3 separate regions of the Homo sapiens genome follow, and regions 1 and 3 are each linked to region 2. The links are contacts of gene promoters, found by promoter capture Hi-C in blood cells and fetal thymus (Javierre and others, 2016). All regions are on one chromosome and are shown on one strand. Each heading gives the region's core, a stretch centred on a gene start or on the middle of the fragment in contact. The rest is flanking DNA. Distances are from core to core; before and after follow the strand shown.

Region 1 (3,036 bases), core at 10-2,509, 200 kb after region 2:
TGAGTGCTTTTCAGCTTTGTGGCATGAAGAGCACATTATTGGCCTGGGCTCACAGGGAGGAATCAGCCGTGCTCAGGCGTGTACAAGGAAGGGTGGGCATGGGCCTCTGTCAAGGCTCCCCTGGGGGTGGGGGTCTAAGCGAGGCCCTGGGCTAGAGCAGGGAGGAGGTCTGGAGAAGGATGGGGGCCACAGTCTGGGGAAGTGAGGCCCCAGTGGACAACAAGCCCCGAGTTACAGATCAGGAAATGGAGGCTCCAGAGTGGCTTAGGTCTCCCTTGCCTCTGGCTGGATCAGGTGAGCCCCAGTCAAGGACTTAAGAGGCCTGGAAGCTGACTCAGTTTCCCCATTTCTGACATTCCCCAGCTCTATCCCTTCAGCAAACTGTGTGATCAGCACTGAGCTGGATCCAGGTGGAAGGTAGGTAGGTAGGGCCGAGAGGGTGAGGGCGGCTCAGCCTGGGACTTGCTCTGTTGGGGTGCCCAAGGCTCTCCTTCTCTTCTCTCCCTCATCTCTGCTCTTCAGTTAGTCTGCACCAGAACGCAGTCACAACCATCATGCGCAGCCTGTGGAGAGGGGTAGAGGGCAGGTTCTGCCCACTGTGGGGCCTGGGTGCAAATCTCAGCTGTGTGACTGCAGTCCCTCAGTTCTACCCCCTAACACTCCCATGTGGAGCGTGGAAGAATCCTGCCGCTCAGCCGGCAGGCCTCTGTGGGTAGGAGGGGGCTTCTTGCTGCATCCTCGACAAGGGGGCGGTGCTGCTGTTGCTCCTGGGCTCCCTCAGGGCCCTGTTCCTTCTGTGCCAGGGGCAGGCAAAGGGGGTGGGGGCCTGAGCAGGCAGAGACTGGGCCTTTGTTCCCTCCTGCTGCCCTCGCCCAGGCCTGGGGAAGCCCGCGGGTGCTGGGCTGGGGGCTGGGCCCTCGACAAACCGAGTAAGTGCCTGGCAGTGCCAGCGTGCCCAAGCACAGGACGGGGTGGGGGTGGGAGTGGCAGCCGCCTCCTGAGCCGGCTCTTCAGACGGAGGACTGGGACTGCCTGAAGAGGGCCAGCCCCGCCACTTACCCCTGTGCACTCTGGGGCCAGTGGTCTCTCTGACCGTCTGTGTCCTCCTTACCTGTAGAAATTCCTACCTCAGCACTGGGCCTGGCTAAGGTTCCCTGCTGGGGGACAGAGGGCCAGGTCATGGCTGAGAGGCTGGGGCCCTGGGTCCTTGCTCTGTGACCTTGGGCCGGGCCACGCTTACTGGACTGTGGTCCCCCACCCCTGGGTTTTGGGCTCCCATCTCATGGCCCCGTGTCCTGAGCTCCTCCTATCCCACCCCGTTTCTGCCATGCTCTCCCCAGCGGGCCCTGCTTGCTTCAGGCCATCTGTGGCTGAGGCCCTCAGCGCAGCCGTCCTGAGCTCTTGGACACTTGGCTCTCTGGGGGTGCACCTGCTTTATCTCTGTCCCCAGTCCTGTTGCTCTCTTGAGCCTGTTTGCCTCCTTGGTCCCTGTTTCTGCCTCCGTTTCAGCCTGGACCCCGGGGAGCTGGTCCACTCCTTAGCCGCTTAGTGTTCCCATGGGAGGAGGATCCAAGACACTTACTCACTTGCACATTCATCCAGCAGCCATTTCCTGTGCCGGCTGGGCAGTCCCAGGGAGGGAACATGCCCGAGGGAAGCTCGGTGATGTCACACTGGGTGGCAGGATAATGGGGCCCTCAACTTGTCCTCTGATAAATGAATCAAGTGCAACATGAGGACTGACTAAGGCTGGATACGAGGAAGCACTTGGAGTGCTGTGGAGCGATGACCTTGAAGGGGTTCCGACAAGACCGCAGGAGAGATGAACATTTCCCTAGGGTGGTCCCGCTCTGAGCCTGGGGGCAGAGGGAGCCCTCAGGAGAGGGCCCTGCTCTGCCTGCCACCCCCACAGGGCCCCTCCCCAGAGGAAAGTCATTCCTCATGAATGGACCAGGGTGGGGGTAGGTGGCAAGCCTGCACTGGAGCCTGCCCCTCCCTGCTACTGCCCATGTGCTGTGCACCTGGGCCAACAGCATGACTGCACTGTACCTCCCTCTGTGTCAGAATGGATGTGTCTGGGACACCAACACCTACCCCCAGATCCTTGGCAGAAGCCAGAGGGCCTGATATGGGAGCCAGCTTTCTCTGTAGGGAGCACAGTAGCATGTTAACCTCTGGGTGCCCCGATGGAGGGTGTTCAGGTCCTGATCCTTGACATCTTTTCCCCTGCTTTCTTTGGGCCCCACCAGGACACAGTGCTCTCACCTGACTCCTGAGACCCAGCCTACCTGAGAGCCCTGGGAAGGCTCGGGAATCACTCTGCTTCCCAGCCCTGTGCTGATGGGGAAGGTGAGGTTTGCAGAGGGGTGTCATAGAGTGAGGCAAGGTAGAAGCTGGGCCCCCCACCCTGCTGCCCTGAGGCTTTTCACTAGGCCCTGGCTCTGTGAGGGACCAGACACACACACACACACACACACACACACACACACACACACACACACACACACACACACACACACACACACAGCTTTGCCATCCTCTGACTAGACAAGCCCATGCAGGTCTCATAGCAATGGAGGAGCCGCCTGCCTGTGACTGTAGCCTCCTCTCATCAGGGTGTGTCCTGGGTGAAGTCATCCCTTTCCAGGCATGGTCATTAAAGACTATCATTAGCAACTCTTAGAGGCCTTGGCCCCATTGTCTCTGGCTGGGTCAGATGAGCCCCCACAGGTGACCGTGACACAGACTCCGGCCCCTTGCTAGAACCTCTCTTTGCCCAGGCAGCCAGCCCCCTTCCCAGGGCTGTCCTATCGCACACTTCCAGGGGCCATTGTCTGCCGTGTAGCTTCCGTGCATGTGTGGGGTCTCCACACGCCTCCCTCCATGCCTTCAACTCCTCCTCTGGCCTCAGGGCTGCAGGCAGAGGAGAAGCTGCAGTGCCTTTCCACAGGGCGTCATGGGCCAGGGAGGAGCCTCTTTAGGGGACAGGGGAGCCCCTAGAGGGCATCAGGCACAGGGCTGATGGGGTCTGGCTGT
Region 2 (2,744 bases), core at 1-2,500:
CCATCGAACAGTGCCCAGTAATGGCCTGTCAGGAACTGCACAGGAAGGGCTCAGTGTCAGCCTCTGCCTGACTTCCCCACTTGTCCCCTGACGCAACCTAACTAGGACCTGGGGCAGCAGGGTAAGAACCTCAGCCTGCAGGTCGTGGCCCCAGCCTGTCGGAGGGATTCCAGCCAAGAACTCAGACTGCACTCACCTCCTCTGGGCACAGGGTCAGCCACTCTTCTTCAGCCCCAAACTCACATCTCCGGATGCACAGCTTCCCACAGGCGGCTTGATCCTCATTGAATTCAGATTTCTCTGCATTGATAATCCTGAGGCCGGGAAATGGTAAGCGACCCTCCAGGGACACACCTATGTCCCCATGGGCACAGGGACCCAAGCCAGCACAGGGAGAAGACCCCTCCCTCTGGGGCAACAGCTCCCCAGTGCTGTCCCTAACACACACTTAGACAACCACGATGTAAGCTTCCTAACTTCACTGGCCTCATGGCTAAGGTAAAAGTCAGGGCCCAGCTCCTCTGGAGCCTACCTGGTGACCCAGGGCTAGACGGTAAGGGTAGGTTGCCATTCCTGCCCCTGTCCTGTCGCAGCCCAAAGCCCTGTCCCATACAGCGCAGGTCATACCCAGGGTGAGATGGTGGGGGTAGAGGGCGAGGGGAAATCTCCAAAGCCCCGAATGCTGGAACTCTACCGAGTCTCTGGGCCTCATCTTGGAAGCCCCTGGGCTGCAGGTCCTTCCCGACCTCCTGTCTTCTCTGAGGGGGAGGTCGGAATCCCAAGGAAAACGCTGGGTCGGGATGACCGGGAAGTTGTCAGGATTCGGAGGTGAGGGCAAGAAGGGGCTGTCCACAGGTGGGTGGGGACTGTCACTCAGCTCCTCCCGCTTTCTAGGCGGGCGCAGGACCCGAAGCGGGTTCAGGCCCGGGCCTGAGCTGGGGGTCGGGGAGGGGCACTCACTCGGCGTAGCCTGCATTCCAGGGTAGCGTGCGTCCTCGTGCGGGGCTGCGCACGGGCCGGGAGTCTGGGCGGCGCGAGGCGTCGGCCGCCCCGGGGCTGGAGCTGGAGCCGCGAAGGAAGCGGGGCCGTCGGTAGGGCACGGGGCTGGCATGCGGCCCAGGCGGCCGCGGCGCGGGGAGCGGCTCCCCAGGCAGGAAGCGGCGCCGGAACCAGCCGGCGGACATGGCGCGGCGGCAGGGGGCTGCCCGCGGAGCGCGGGGCGCTAGGGCTGGGCCGCCCGCGGGAGGAAGAAGCGGGCCGCGGGCGGAGCCGAGGGAGGGGTGCGCCGGCGGGAGGCGGGGCCGGGGGCGCGCAGACGGGAGGCGTCGCCCCCCAGCCCCGACCTCCGCCCGGGAGTGCGTGCGCGGCTGGTTCGCTGACTCCAGGGGTCAACGCTCGCGACCGCCTGAAGAAGCCCACGCCGGCATCAGCCCCATTTGACAAGCAGGAAAACCGAGGCCTAGAGAGGCGAAGTCGCCTGCCCAGCGTCCCACAGTAGCCAGGGAGGACTGTTCACCCACGCTTGCGGGGCACTGGTGGTTGAGAGGAAAAGTCCCCCACACTCCGCGGGGCCAGCGTCGCGCAGATCCTCGGACCTCCTCCTGCTGGGTGGGGACCTGACGCAAGGGGAAGATGGGGACAAAATGAGCTGGGAGGTGTCAGACCCCCACATTGAGTAAATGCCACCGAGCACAGGTTCCTTCAGGCGGCCTCCAATCCTCTCCACCCCGGCCTGCCACCCTCCACCCCAGACGGGCTTAGTGGGCACCTTGGCTTTCCCCGTCCTGAGAGGCTGCTGCCACCCTCGAGGACAGTCTTCCAAATGGCTGTCCCTGCATTCAAGATGTCTTCGCGGAATAGACAGCAGGATCCTTACTGGACTGTGAGTGAGTGACGGACAAGAGAAATCTGTGTGAGTGTAAAGGGGAATCCGTGGTCCCCCAAAGGCTCCAGCTGGTCCGAGTTCAGACCTGGGACGGAGGGAAGTGAAAGACGAGGAACCATCTTGCGGTCTCTCAACCACTGGCTAGCTGTCACCAGGCGGTCAGCCGCAGTGTCCCCTTCACATCTGCGAGTTAACAAAGCACTTTGTCACCCATTTGTCACTCAAGTCCAACTCCCTGTGCAAAAGTGTTACTTTGGCCGGAGGCAGTGGCTCACGCCTGTAATCCCAGTGCTTTGGGAGGCCGAGGCGGGCGGATCACTTGAGGTCAGGAGTTCGAGACCAGCCTGGCCAACATGGTGAAACCCCGTCTGTACTAAAAATTAGCCAAGCGTGGTGGTGTGCGCCTGTAATCCCAGTTACTCAGAAGGCTGGGGCACAAGAATCGGTTGAACCCAGGAGGCAGAAGTTGCAGTGAGCCGAGATGGAGCCACTGCACTCCAGCCAGGGCAACAGAGCGAGACTCAGTCTCAAAAAAAAGAGTGTTACATCATATGGACGATTCTGAGGCCCATGGAGGGGAAGTCTTGGACACCCAGGGCTGTACTATTTCCATTATGACAATGCAGCTGACTCAATCCTCGCCCCCAGGGCACTTCTCTTCCCCTTTCCTCCTCCAGGAAGCCAGGGCTTGCCAATTAAAAGCGGCTAAGGCTCCACAGCCCAGTGCCTGCATATGAGCTGTATGAGGAGTCCACCTTCACCTCCACTCCCTAGCCCAGGTAGACGCTCAGTAAGCCCTACTTCCTCCCAGCAGCTAGTCCTGCCCCAGTGGGAGTTCCTCGGGCCCAAGAAGGAAGGT
Region 3 (2,989 bases), core at 400-2,899, 170 kb before region 2:
AGATTTCCAAAATATATATGATGGAAAAAAGCCAAGATACAAAGCACTCTGTATAATGTTTAATTTTTATGTAAAAAATGTATATGCTTGTAAATACATCAAAATTATAACTAAGCCCTGACACCTGATAGGACTTACAAGAAAGGAAAATCACAGACCAATCTTTCTCATGAGCACAGATATAAAAATCAAAACAGATGCAAACTGAATCCAGCACCATATAAAAAGGACAATACATCATGACCAAGTAGAGTTTATACCAAGAATGCAAGACTAGTTTAACATTAGAGCATTTAGTTGATGTAACAAACTACATTAACAAAATTAAAGAGAAAAATCAAGATAATCTCAATAAATACAGGAAAAGTGAGAAAATTCAACACCCATTCATGATACTCTGGGCAAACTATATATGAATAAAAGGGATCTTCAACCTGATAAAAACATCTATGAAAAAAACCTAGAGCTAACATACTTTAATAGTGAAAAACTAGATGCTGTCCCCTGATGTTGGGAACAAGACAAGGATAACAACTCACACCACTTCTATTCAATGTTAGGTTAAAGGTCCTAGCCAATACAACAAGGCAAGAAGAAATAAAAGGCAAAGATTGAGAGAAAGAAGTAGAACTGTCTTTATTCACACATGACATGGTTATGTGCATAGGGAATCCTGTAACAAGGCATTTACAACAAAATAAAAAAACAACTAATCAAACTCAATTTAACAAGATTACAGGATACAAATCAATATACAAAAATAAAATGCATTTCTATATACCAGCAATAAACTTAAAAATGAAATAAAAATACTATTTACAATAGCATAACCACAGAATATTTAGGAATACATTTAACAAAAGATGTACAAGACTTTGTCACCAAAACAACAAAACATTGCTGAGATATATTTTAAAAGACCCAAATAAGTGGAAAAATATACCATGTCCATGGATTGGAAGGTTCAATATTTTTTGTCAATTCTTCCCAAATTGACCTATAAATTCAATGCAATCCCAATCACAATCCCAGTAGACTTTTTTTTTAAAGAAAAATTGACAAGCTTAATATAAACTTTATAAAGAAAGGACCTGATAGTCAAAACAATCTTGGAAAAGATTGTAGAACTTAACAATACTGAATTTCAATATACTATAAAGCCACAATAATCAAGACAGTGGGGACTTGTGTAAGAATAGATACATAGATCAATGACATAAATAGATTATCCAGATCCACAGATATATGGTCAATTGATTTTGACAAAGGCACCAAGGCAATTCTATGGGTAGGTAAAGATTTCTTGCAACACACAAAAAGCACTGACCATAAAAGAAAAAAATGGATAAACTGGGCTCCATTACAATTACAAACTTGTTCTTTGAAAGACACCATTAAGAAAATGAAAAGGCAAGCCAAAGACTAGGAAGAAAATAGTCTCAATACATATATTTGAAAAAGAATTTGTATCTGAAATATATAAGCAATTCCTACAACTCAATAATAAAACCACTCAATTTTTTTTTTTTTTTTTTGAGACGGAGTCTTGCACTGTCGCCCAGGCTGGAGTGCAGTGGCGTGATCTCGGCTCACTGCAAGCTCCACTTCCTGGGTTCACGCCATTCTCCTGCCTCAGCCTCCCGAGTAGCTGGGACTACAGGCGCCTGCCACCATGCCCGGCTAATTTTTTTATTTTTAGTAGACACAGGGTTTCACCGTGTTAGCCAGGATGGTCTCCATCTCCTGACCTCTTGATCTGCTCGCCTCGGCCTCCCAAAGTTCTGGGATTACAGGCGTGAGCCACTGTGCCCGACCACCACTCAGTGTTTTTAAATGGGTAAAAATATTTGTACAGATACTTAACAAACGAAAATATGTGGGCCGGGCCAGGCGCGGTGGCTCACGCCTGTAATCCCAGCACTTTGGGAGGCCGAGGTGGGCAGATCACGAGGTCAAGAGATCGAGACCATCCTGGCTAACACGGTGAAACCCTGTCTCTACTAAAAATATAAAAATTAGCCATGCGTGGTGACAGGCACCTGTAGTCCCAGCTACTTGGGAGGCTGATGCAGGAGAATTGCTCCAACCCGGGAGGTGGAGGCTGCAGTGAGCCAAGATCATACCACTGCACTCCAGCCTGGGCGACAGAGCGAGACTCCATCTCAAAAAAAAAAAAAAACCAAAAAACCAAAGAAAATATGTGAATGGCCAATATGCACATGAAAAGAAGCTTTAGTCATCAGAAAAATGGAAATTAAAACGACAATGAAATACCAATACACACCCAGTAGAATGGCTAAAATTAAGAACACTGACAAAACAAAGTTCCGGCAAGAATACTGTGCAACTGGACTTCTTATAAATTGCTGGTAGGAGTGTAAGCTGGTACAACCGCTTTGGACAGTGATGTGGCAACCTCACATAAAGTTAAATATCTAATTAGCATACAACTAGTAATTCCACTTCTAGGCATCTGCACAAGAGAAGTGAAAGCACATGTTCACAAAGAGACTTGTACATGAATGCTTAAAGTAGCTTTATTCATAATAGTCCTCAAATGGAAACAATTCAGATGTTCATCAACAGGTGAACAGATAAGCAAATAGTAACTTATTCATGCAACCGAATACTACCAAGTAATAAAAAGGCACAAGCTATGAATGCATGCAACAACATGGATGAATCTCCAAAACACTGTGTTGGGAGAAAAAAGCCAGATACAGAAGATTATAAACTATATGATTTCACTTATATGAAGTAAAAGAATAGCCAAAAATAATCCATAGATCAGAACAGTGATTACGTCTAGTGGGATTGACTGGAAAAGGAGGCAGGAGGGAACTTTCTGGGGTGATGAAAATATTACCTATTTTGATTGGGGTGGTGGTTATTTGGGGACATACATTTATCAAAACTTATCAAACTGGACCCTTAAAATTAGTGAATTTTGTTCAAGACCAGCCTGGCTAACACGGTGAAACCTGTCTCT

The links. Contacts are between HindIII fragments. The CHiCAGO score rates a contact against its expected background, and 5 or more counts as called.
Region 1: a contact is called between a fragment that was not itself captured here and the fragment with the promoter of PPM1M in region 2, in 2 of 17 cell types (non-activated CD4 T cells and endothelial precursors). The highest score is 6.2, in non-activated CD4 T cells.
Region 3: a contact is called between a fragment that was not itself captured here and the fragment with the promoter of PPM1M in region 2, in 4 of 17 cell types (M2 macrophages, naive B cells, M0 macrophages and 1 more). The highest score is 5.2, in M2 macrophages.

The regions. Positions count from the first base shown.
Region 1 is chr3:52,045,346-52,048,381 of GRCh38, reverse strand. LOC124906238 (a long non-coding RNA gene) reads right to left here and starts at 2,153. Exons shown (of 2, transcript XR_007095908.1): 1 at 1,060-2,153; 2 at 1-563. RefSeq lists an enhancer at 863-2,062. The HindIII fragment of the contact is 4,073 bases long and covers 1-3,036 here.
Region 2 is chr3:52,244,265-52,247,008 of GRCh38, reverse strand. It overlaps PPM1M (protein phosphatase, Mg2+/Mn2+ dependent 1M), which reads right to left and starts at 1,250. Exons shown (of 10, transcript NM_144641.4): 1 at 961-1,250; 2 at 197-314; 3 at 1-35. The coding sequence starts at 1,184. RefSeq lists silencers at 907-966, 1,007-1,376. The HindIII fragment of the contact is 3,516 bases long and covers 471-2,744 here.
Region 3 is chr3:52,415,379-52,418,367 of GRCh38, reverse strand. The region is part of intron 4 of PHF7 (PHD finger protein 7); the gene reads right to left. Among named protein-coding and RNA genes, the nearest start is that of PHF7, 6.2 kb to the right of the region's middle. The HindIII fragment of the contact is 1,167 bases long and covers 1,066-2,232 here.